Regions from separate parts of the Homo sapiens genome. Here all the other regions are linked to region 1. Evidence: promoter capture Hi-C in 16 types of primary human blood cells and fetal thymus (Javierre and others, 2016). All regions are on one chromosome and are shown on one strand. The core of a region is centred on a gene start or on the middle of the fragment in contact, and the rest is flanking DNA. Distances in the headings are between cores, read along the strand shown.

The links. The method cuts DNA at HindIII sites, captures the fragments that hold promoters and counts their contacts. A CHiCAGO score of 5 or more calls a contact.
Region 2: a fragment that was not itself captured here is called in contact with the fragment with the promoter of TCERG1 in region 1 in 9 of 17 cell types (total B cells, total CD4 T cells, naive B cells and 6 more); the score reaches 26.1 in total B cells.
Region 3: a fragment that was not itself captured here is called in contact with the fragment with the promoter of TCERG1 in region 1 in 1 of 17 cell types (naive CD8 T cells); the score reaches 7.8 in naive CD8 T cells.

Annotation. Positions count from the first base shown.
Region 1 is chr5:146,445,604-146,448,756 of GRCh38, forward strand. It overlaps TCERG1 (transcription elongation regulator 1), which reads left to right and starts at 1,730. Exons shown (of 23, transcript NM_001382548.1): 1 at 1,730-1,805. The coding sequence starts at 1,747. RefSeq lists an enhancer at 1,393-2,100 and a silencer at 2,019-2,098. The HindIII fragment of the contact is 4,342 bases long and covers 1-3,153 here.
Region 2 is chr5:144,195,152-144,198,304 of GRCh38, forward strand. The region is part of intron 2 of KCTD16 (potassium channel tetramerization domain containing 16); the gene reads left to right. Among named protein-coding and RNA genes, the nearest start is that of KCTD16, 26 kb to the left of the region's middle. The HindIII fragment of the contact is 1,273 bases long and covers 846-2,118 here.
Region 3 is chr5:144,211,346-144,214,498 of GRCh38, forward strand. The region is part of intron 3 of KCTD16 (potassium channel tetramerization domain containing 16); the gene reads left to right. Among named protein-coding and RNA genes, the nearest start is that of KCTD16, 42 kb to the left of the region's middle. The HindIII fragment of the contact is 2,001 bases long and covers 738-2,738 here.

The DNA.
Region 1 (3,153 bases), core at 480-2,979:
CCAATTCCAGAACATTTTTATCATCCAAAAAGACATTCCATATCCATCAGCAGTCACTTCCAATTCCTCATTCCCCTCTACCTCCTGGAAACCACTGTTCTACTTTCTGTCTGTATGTATTTGCCTGAAATGCAATGCAATTTCATCATATTTCATGTAAATGGAATCATACAACAGGCGGCCTTTTTGTATGTGGCTTTTTATGTCTGAACAATATTTCATTGTACAGTTATACCATGTTTCTTTTTTTTTTGAGACGGAGTCTCGCTCTGTTGCCCAGGCTGGAGTGCAGTGGCGCGATCTCTGCTCACTGCAAGCTCTGCCTCCGGGGTTCACGCCATTCTCCTGCCACAGCCTCCCGAGTAGCTGGGACTACAGGCGCCCGCCACCACGCCGGGCTATTTGTTTTTAGTAGAGACAGGGTTTCACCGTGTGAGCCAGGATGGTCTTGATCTCCTGACCTCGTGATCCGCCCGTCTAGGCCTCCCAAAGTGCTGGGATTACAGGTTTGGGCCACCGCGCCCGGCCTATACCATGCTTCTTAACCATGCATCAGCTGATGGTCATTGGGTTGTTACAATACTTTTTGGCTATTATGAATATTGCTGCTGTGAACATTTGTGCACATGTTTTTATGTGGATCCAATTATTTAGGCTTACAGTATTTAAGAGTGCTGCTTTGCTACTACGCTGACTGGGGTTAAGACCAGGCTCTGCTATTTAGTAGATGTGTGACCTTGGGCAAGTTACTTAACTTCTCTGTGCCTCAAGCTCATCTACAAACAGTGACTATGTTACCCACCTCCTAGCAATTTTTGAATCTTAAAAGAGTTAACGTACCTGACATACTTAGATCCGGGTTTGCTACATGGTTAGGTCCAAGTAAAATTTATCTATTAGTATTATTTTAATATTTTTACGACTTTAATAAAAGGGCTCATCTTCATTGTGCCTTTGAAACCCCAAATCCAAAACTTTTTTTTTTGTTAATTAGAAAAACTAAATAAATATTCAGAATTGTCTGGTATTCTGGGTGTGCTAATTTCAGACAAGCACATTTTGAGATCGAGGGAGACGTGGTTAAGCTGTAAATTGCAAAGAGGCTTGCCTTCGCCAATTTACCTTTCTTAATGCAGCAACTTATAACACCTATTGGCTTGCAACGGTTTAGTATAATTTGGGAGGTATTCTTGTAATTAATAATATATTATTTAATAACATGGATATAGAGCTGAGTGGTGACTTAAGACTCCTGCTACTGTAAAGCTAGGAAATAGCGGCTTTCCACAGCAACTGTGCAATCGGTTTAGGCGCGGCCCAGGTCGATTTTGATTGGCTTGCCCAGTGGAAATGCTCTCCGCCTGAGCTACTACTGGCCAATATGGCTCCACAATTGGCTCTCCTGGAAGCCGACAGACACGTGGCTACCGCAGGCTGAGCCGAACTTGGGAGGACTTAGTTCTGCTTACCGCGAGAGGGCGCCGGCGGTTCCTCACTGCTAAAATCTCATTTCCCATAAAGCCCCCGAGTCACCAATCAACTGGCTGTCTTCATACCGCTTTCAAAGTCGGCGGGCGCCTTGCCCAATAGCAAAGAACATATCGCCCCCATTTCGAAGATTGATGGAAAGTTTGACCAACCGCATCTCAGACTTCTGCTGTCTCCGCCTCTCTCGTTGGGGATTGACGATTTTTCTAGCCAATAGGAGACGTCGGGTCGGCGGGTGGATGAACGCGGCCCTCTGTAATGGCGGAGCGTGGCGGGGACGGGGGCGAGAGTGAACGATTCAACCCGGGGGAGCTCAGGTAAGGAACGCTGCCCTCCTTCACATCTCTGCTCACGAGAGCCCCAGAGGCTAGACGCTAGACCTGCCATGTGGAGATCCGGGGCGGACGGTGGGTAGCGGAGCCGGGCGGCCCGGGCCGGGACCGCATGGGGTTTAAGAAGGGGGAAGGGGAAGGTGGCTTGAATGAGAGCCGGGCCCGGGCTGGGCCAGGGCCTCCTGCGCGTTCCCTGGCTGCTTCCTAGTGCTTTCTTGGGGCCTCGCCGCCTCTCGCGGCCTGCAGCCCTCTGGCCGGGCGCGGTGCTCCCGCCTTTGGGCCCCGCCTCAGCCGCGTGTCGCCTCCGTCTCGGCCGACCTGAGTCTGTCCCCAGGCCGCGCTCCGCTGCGGGCCTGATTTTCCTCATCGACGTCTCTGCACTCCGCAGTTACTTTCCCTGTACCCCTCGCCACTTCTGGCTAAGCCTTCTCCACGCCCTCCGCGGCTCTTTGGGCTCCCCACGTTTGCCCTTTCATTTCATCCCCCTCATTGCTTGCCTTTCTTAACTTCTGTGGCTTTTCTTCCTTTTTTCATCCCTTTATTCCTTATTATCCTGTAGTTGTGAGTAACAACAACAGTAGCAACCCCTTATTAGGCACTTACCGTGTGCCAGTAAACCCTTTACTTAGGTTTGTCTCATTTAATCCTCACAACCACCCTTTGGAGTAGTTGCTATTAACATTTTGCAGGCCACAGACCAGAGGGGTCTTCAGTTGTTACTCGCCCATCTTACAGGTGAGATAACAGCCTCGTGGAGGTTGAGTCAGTAGAATAAGATTGCATAGGCGGATTTGTGGCTCCAGGAAGTGGCTTGAACTCAGGCAGTCAGGTTTCAGAGCCTGCAATCCCAATTGGCGTTCTATTCGTCTACTACTCATGCCATTTCCTTGAACAGTGCAGTGACCTTTTTTTCCCCTGGAACCTCAGTGTCTATGAGTTTGTAATTAAAATTTGGTAAAATGAGAGTGACCTGGAGAAATCTTTTGGTCAGTGGTTTTTGAGGAAAAGAGGTATTATGCTTTATGTGTATTTGGTACTTTGGTTTTTTTCTGTATGGGAGAAATGGCATTTCAGATGTTCAGCTCCCATTCTGAATTGTGCTGTTGTCAACGTTTGAAAATGAAAAAGAGCAGGGTAGATTATGAAGACTCTGTTGATACTGTCTTGAACTTAAGATGAAATTGTGTAAGGAAATGGGTATTGTTATTCAAGGTTTTAGAAGAGGAAAATGCCTTTCAGATTCTGTATGGTCGCACACACAAATCTCCACTTTGGCAGAAATGAAATTTTGTTTTATTTCAGAGATGAATCTGAAATCCTTTAAACTCCATAT
Region 2 (3,153 bases), core at 232-2,731, 2.3 Mb before region 1:
TCCCCCAATTGTTAAACTATAGGCATACCCTGTTAGCATGGGGGAATCTCTTCCTGGAAATTATCACATTAACTACATTGATGCTATATGTGCCTTTGGCCCAAGATTTCTTCTATTTACCTTTCTTATCTTTCTGGGTTGCTGCAAGGCTTATGTTGTCCTTCAAAATCTCAAAGGATTTCTACCAGGCAACAAATGTCTGCTGATCTGGGTTTCTTAGACCACCTCCTTGGGGGCATCTGAGGTTGTTGCAGTGCAGCCTGCTTGCTACCATCCAGCACCTTTCATGATTTTTGCAGAATCTCCAGCACCGTTGCTTGGTCACCTTTTGTCAGCCATCTTGAGCTTCAGTGTTCACTGGCACACAAGGAACCACAGAAAGAGGGAGCTGGTGGAGTCAACAAATGGAGAGGGAAGGGCCACTCAAATGGCTCTTAGTCTTCACTGGCTGAGAACCAAATACAGATTAGCTGTACGGTAGAGTGCTGCAACGGACTTACATTTATATACACATATAAAATATTTCTGAGATCATCAGCACTCTAATGAATCAGCCCTGTCTGGAACAGCTCTAAATGAATTCTAAATGAGTGCCTCTCTGATTTCATACCGAGTAAATGTATAGTAATGCAAAGTGGCACTTTCTTTAGTTCATCAATAATTTATTAATGGGCACTTTGTTCTAGGCATGATGTTTCTTAGAGTTTCAAAAAATGACTTTGCTTTTGGTTGCTCTGTTGCTCTCATAGAACTTTTTCCTCTTCTCTTAACAGCAGTCATCACTTTCTCCTGTGTGCCAGTTGTCTCCAAGTCAGACACAGAGTGTTTTCCCCTATTGGATTATAAGCTTAGTGAAGGTAACACTCATGTTTGATTCACTATTACATTCTCTACAAAGCCTAACATAGTTCCTTGTACAAATAGATACACATAAATATTTGAGTAAATGAATGATAATAAGAGACATGGCCAAAACATTTTAAAGGAGCTCAAAACGTATTTTGCTGGACTCCAGCAATCTTAGCTGTCATTACTATGTGGGGCTCTAGGGAAGGACTCTATGTCGGCTCTGATTGGCCAGTGGCTCTGCAGGTGATCTTATTTTTTTGGAGGGAAGCGAGTTTTTACTATTGTGAAGCACTTTTATTATTGTCAGTGCCTCACAATAATAAAACTCCATCAGTCACTTCCATTGGGCAGTTACTTTTTCTTTCTTTACCCTTATAGGTATAAATGACCTCGGACCAAATGGCAATAAAAGGAAGGTATTTTATTACTGTCTTTGGGGCAAATAAAACATTTATTATTTCTCCATCCCTAGCCCTTTCATCTAATTTTTAATCTTAATTTATAATTGTATTATATGTCCTATCCAGGAGTAATTGCAGCTTCTATGTCCTGTATTATGGCACATCAACAACACAGATGTATGTAACTACTCTCAAGACCTCATTTAAATATATGAAAAATTCAAGAGATTGTTCAAGGGACACCAGGTTGAATCCAGGTTCTATCAGATACATAAATCTTTTTTTGTGTCACTCCATTTGTTCATAGGCATTCTTTTTCCTGATGAATGGCAACCAGATTTATCAGGAAGATATACAACACTGGCTCCATTTCAAACAATTGTCTGATGTCCTCTGGCAGCTATTGGAACTGCACATTGCAATAGTACCAGCCTGTCATTTTGAGAGACCCCTAGGGTAATTGTGAGATGTGCTTGAGGCTCAGATCATTGTCTGTAAAGGTAACATGCAATTTCCTTGGCAGCAGCTGTGCAAATCTGCGTTGTACAGCAAAAAAGGTGATGTTTCCTACCTCATATTTGAATTATGTACTTTGGCCCTTTAAATCTTGTGCCCGGTATGTGTGTCTATGTAGGTCAATCATTATCAGGCATTCTAACTCCATAACCCATCCTACACACATGTTTGGAAAGAATGCAGAGTAACTGATGCATAAAATAGTTGGATTATAATTGTCTGGTACCTTGACAAAATACTTTTTCAGTAAATCATATTTTTCAAGCATATAAGCACTTTTTAAAAAATAAAAACTAGAATTTTATAGTTCTGATGTAAACTTTTATCCTAAAAGCAATGTCTTATTTCTATAAGCTTTTAAATTCTGGAACATAAACATATATATTACTTATCCTTTTGGATTCATGAAGGGTCAGTTCTCTGATGCTCTATTCATAAACATTTCACTTTTCACATTTGGAAACAACATTTCAGGAGTAAAGAAAATTAGATATGCTACACTCTTAGATCACATGCTTGTTATATCCAGATGAAACTTCTGGATACCACTGGCCTAATTGGTGGTTTATTCTTTCATTCATTCATTTGCTTGTTCATTCTCACAACCCTTTGACAAATATATATAGAGTGCTTACTCTGAGCCTGGCACTGAACTGCGATTGGGGATATAGTGGTGATCTATGCTGGATTGTGTTGGTGTTCTTTGTGATGCCAAACCATTGGGTACACAGTGAGCATATTTAATAAAAGAAACTATATGCCCAAATAATTTGGGTGTAGTGAAAAAGGACCTCGGAATCAGACAGGTTTGGTGTGATCCGCTGCTGGTTACTTAACCTCTTGGAGGCTCTTTTATTCTCCCCACAATGCTAACATTTCAGGATTGTTTTAGGAATTAAGATAGAAAATGTATGTGGAATTGCCTGGCAATTGGGTCAGTTAATTTTATTAATTTGTTTGGCCACAGGCACAGACATGAATCTTTTAAGAAACTGGTGTCAGTGAAATTTTGAAACTGGAAACTCTGATCTCTTACTCTTTCAGGAGTGTTTCTTTTAAAGGTTTCTCTTTTTTTCCATTCCAATTTGACCCCACATCGAAGACATGAATACCTCTTTGTAGTAGTGGGTTAAGAGAGGGTGGTTTTCGCAGTCAGCTTATTTCTCTCGGACCTGACCAAATGAAAAGATCCCTGCTAGCATGTAGAACTCAATGTCTGAGAAACAAACTGGAATCAACTACCTTATATTCCTAACCAACAGCTCCATCTGATATGACCCTATCAGCTTTGTAATTGTTTCATTGGGCCATTCTGAGGATTTCGCTCTTGGTTCTGCAATTAAATTAAACAAACATTAATTGAGCATCTCTCAGATGCCAGACCTTG
Region 3 (3,153 bases), core at 488-2,987, 2.2 Mb before region 1:
GGCTACTTGAAAGATACCAGTACAGGTTGAGCATCCCTACTTCAAAAATTCCATGTCCAAAATGATTCAAAATCCAGGACTTCTTGAGCACCAGCATGATGCCACAAGTGGAAAATTCCACATATAAGTACTCAACACAAACTTTGTTTCATGTCCCAAATTATTAAAACTATTGTATACAATTACATTAGGCTATGTGTATAATGTGCATATAAAACATAAATGAATTGCATGTTCAAACTTGAGTCTTAGCCCTAAGATATGTCATTACATATATGCAAATATCATAAAATCTGAAAAAATCCAAAATCTGAAACATGTCCAGTTCAGGCATTTTGAGTAAGGGATATTCAACCTGTAATAATTTCAATTTTTATTACCTATAGAGATATGGTATTGGCACATTCAAAGTGAAACATCAGGGATAGCAGAGTGGCCAAAATCATAAGGTATGTGATGTTTGGTCCTTACACTACCAGCATCTCTCTCTGTGACTTCCTTCTGTTGTCTCACCTTAGCTGCTCCTCTTTCCTTCTGTTTGAGTCATGTCTGCTCTCCAGTTCTTTCTCCCATGCCATAATCAAAGCTCATCAGGAAAAATTCTGCTCTGTCATTATATTTAGAATGCTTTCAAGGCATGATGTTACCTTCCCCAGGGGTATTTGTACATAAGAGCACTTTTAATAGTTGTGGATCAGGCATCCTTTTACCTTGAAGAAAGTGTTCTTAAGATTTGAAGCTTCTTAATTTCTGATGAAAAACAAACCGCAGTTTAAGTATAAGGCTTCATTATGAAGTCAGTTTAGACCCATGCTCAGGCAGATATTGGATAATAAAGGGCAGAAGCAGCAGGCATAATTTTTCTTATTTCTTTAAGATGCTGTGCACTGAGAATTGGGCTTAATAGAACAGTGATTTAAGCATGTTAGTGAAGTATTTTATTATACTGTTTTCACTTCTATGCCAAGCAAGAGCTGTTACCTGAGCCCAGTCCCTTGTAGGAGAAGATTAAAATAGTTTCTTCCTGGGTCTGTGGCATCAGGGAAGGTATTTGGCAGCAAGAATTGTGTCAATGTATGGGTGAAAAGGAGAGGTCTCTGAAGTTGCCCCCAAGTGTTCTGATACATTAAAATATATATGATTGGAAAGAGAAGACCAAATATTTCTAACAGCCTAATGAGGTTGTATCTAATCAAAGAAATTAGAAATGGAAGTAGCTGAGAATGTGCCACAAAGCTCCATCTGGAACACCTCCAAACACAAAACACGGAAAGGAGCGACTACGCATAGGATGAGTGCCAGTCCCATGCATAGAAAGAAGTCTTCCAGAAATGGATAGATGAATGCTCAGTTTCTGCATCATAACGCACTGTTGCTCTTTTTCTTTTGCCTCTGCGATGGCTTTTCTCAAGTATTGTGTTTCTTGGCAAATCAGTTAATTTTTTTTTATTACAGAAATTTTGAAATGTATCCAAATGTAGAGATAATGGCATAATGAACTTTCATGTAACCATCACCCATCTCTAATAATTACCCTTAGCACAGCAAGATCAATCTTGTTTCATCCATATTCCTACTTACTTTCCCTTTTGTCGATGCTGGATTATTTTGAAGCAAATCCCAGACATCAATTCATTTCTTTATCCACAAATGCTATGGTATATATTTCTAAAATATAAATTATTTTTAAAAGCAACATAACATCATTATATGGTATTCTACCATATACCATTATAACATACAAAATTAATAATTCTTTAATATTATCAAATATCTAGTCAGTGTTTAAAGTTTCCTGATTTCTTCACAATGTTTTAAAAGTTGGTTTGAATCAAGATGCAAATGAAATCTACATATTATATTATATTTGTTTGCTAATTTTCTTTTCTCTCATCATTTAAAAAATATTGCATATAACTTATATGCAACAAAGTGGTAAAATGTCCATCTTACATCTCTTTTAATTCCTCCCTTTCTTTCTCTTGCTCTATTCCCTTTTCTCTCTCTCTTTTCCCTTCCCTTCCCTTCTTTCTCTTTCTTTCTTTCTTTCTCTCTCTTTCTTTTTTTCTCTCTCTCTTTCTTTTTCTTTCTCCTCTTTTTTACAACTTACTTGTTTCATGAAATCAAGTTGTCATGTTGAATATCTTGCATTCTGGGTTTTGCTCATCCATCTCTATGATCTCCGTGATATTATGAACACACCCTCCTCAATCCTTATGTTTTTGGTAAGCTCGTTAGATCTAGACTCCAGATTTTAGAGGCCTAATCAAATTCACTCAGTATTTCTGACAAGTTTTCACAGGTGACAGCAAGTTCATTTTACAATTTGCATTGGAGGATTGAAATGCTATATGTTATGGAGGCAAGGTAAGGGCATGTTTTTATTGTTAGCTTTTACATATTTATCATCTGAATCAATAGCTATTGGGTGTATTCTCTCCATTGTTCAAGTTGATTCTGATGACAAAGCAGGCATTCAAAGAGGTCCCTTATTTTCTCTCCAGTCATTCAAGGTCTAGTATTGCACTTCCATTCTTGTCATTAGATTAGGCTACCATTCAGGTGCTGCAGTGGTAGCCTGCTGAGCTTACCAAGATGTGCAGTGGGCCCTGTTGACTATGAGAATCATTTTGGGTAGAAAAGTTTGCCTTCTGGCTATTCTGATTTTACATTTGAGTATCTTTGTATTTTTTCAATTGTGCTGAAACTCCACTGAACTTAACCATTTGTGTTTCCCAAGCTTCTTCTCTAAATGGCATTGTTAGTCACTTAGTTGCCCAAGGAGGAATAAAACATAGGTGACATTCCTGATTCTTTCTTCTCCCCACTTTCTCCAATCTCCAACAAGTCCTGTTGGTTCTTCTCCTTCATCTCCCTCAGGTCCGTCCTCTTCTTTCCATCTCCGCTGATGGAAAGGCCATGAGCATTCCTTTATTGCTTTTCTATACTATTGCAAATGAGCTTAAATTGTTCTCCCCCTCCCGCATCCAGTATTTTCCCCTTTGGATCTATCCTCCTTGCTGCAAATATGATGAGATTTCTAAGGAGTGACTGACCATGTCACTCCTTTGCTTAAAGTTCATAATTGTCTTACAACTGCTCTTGTATTCAAATACAAACTCTTTAACATGAACCACATCCTTTTGTGAAATC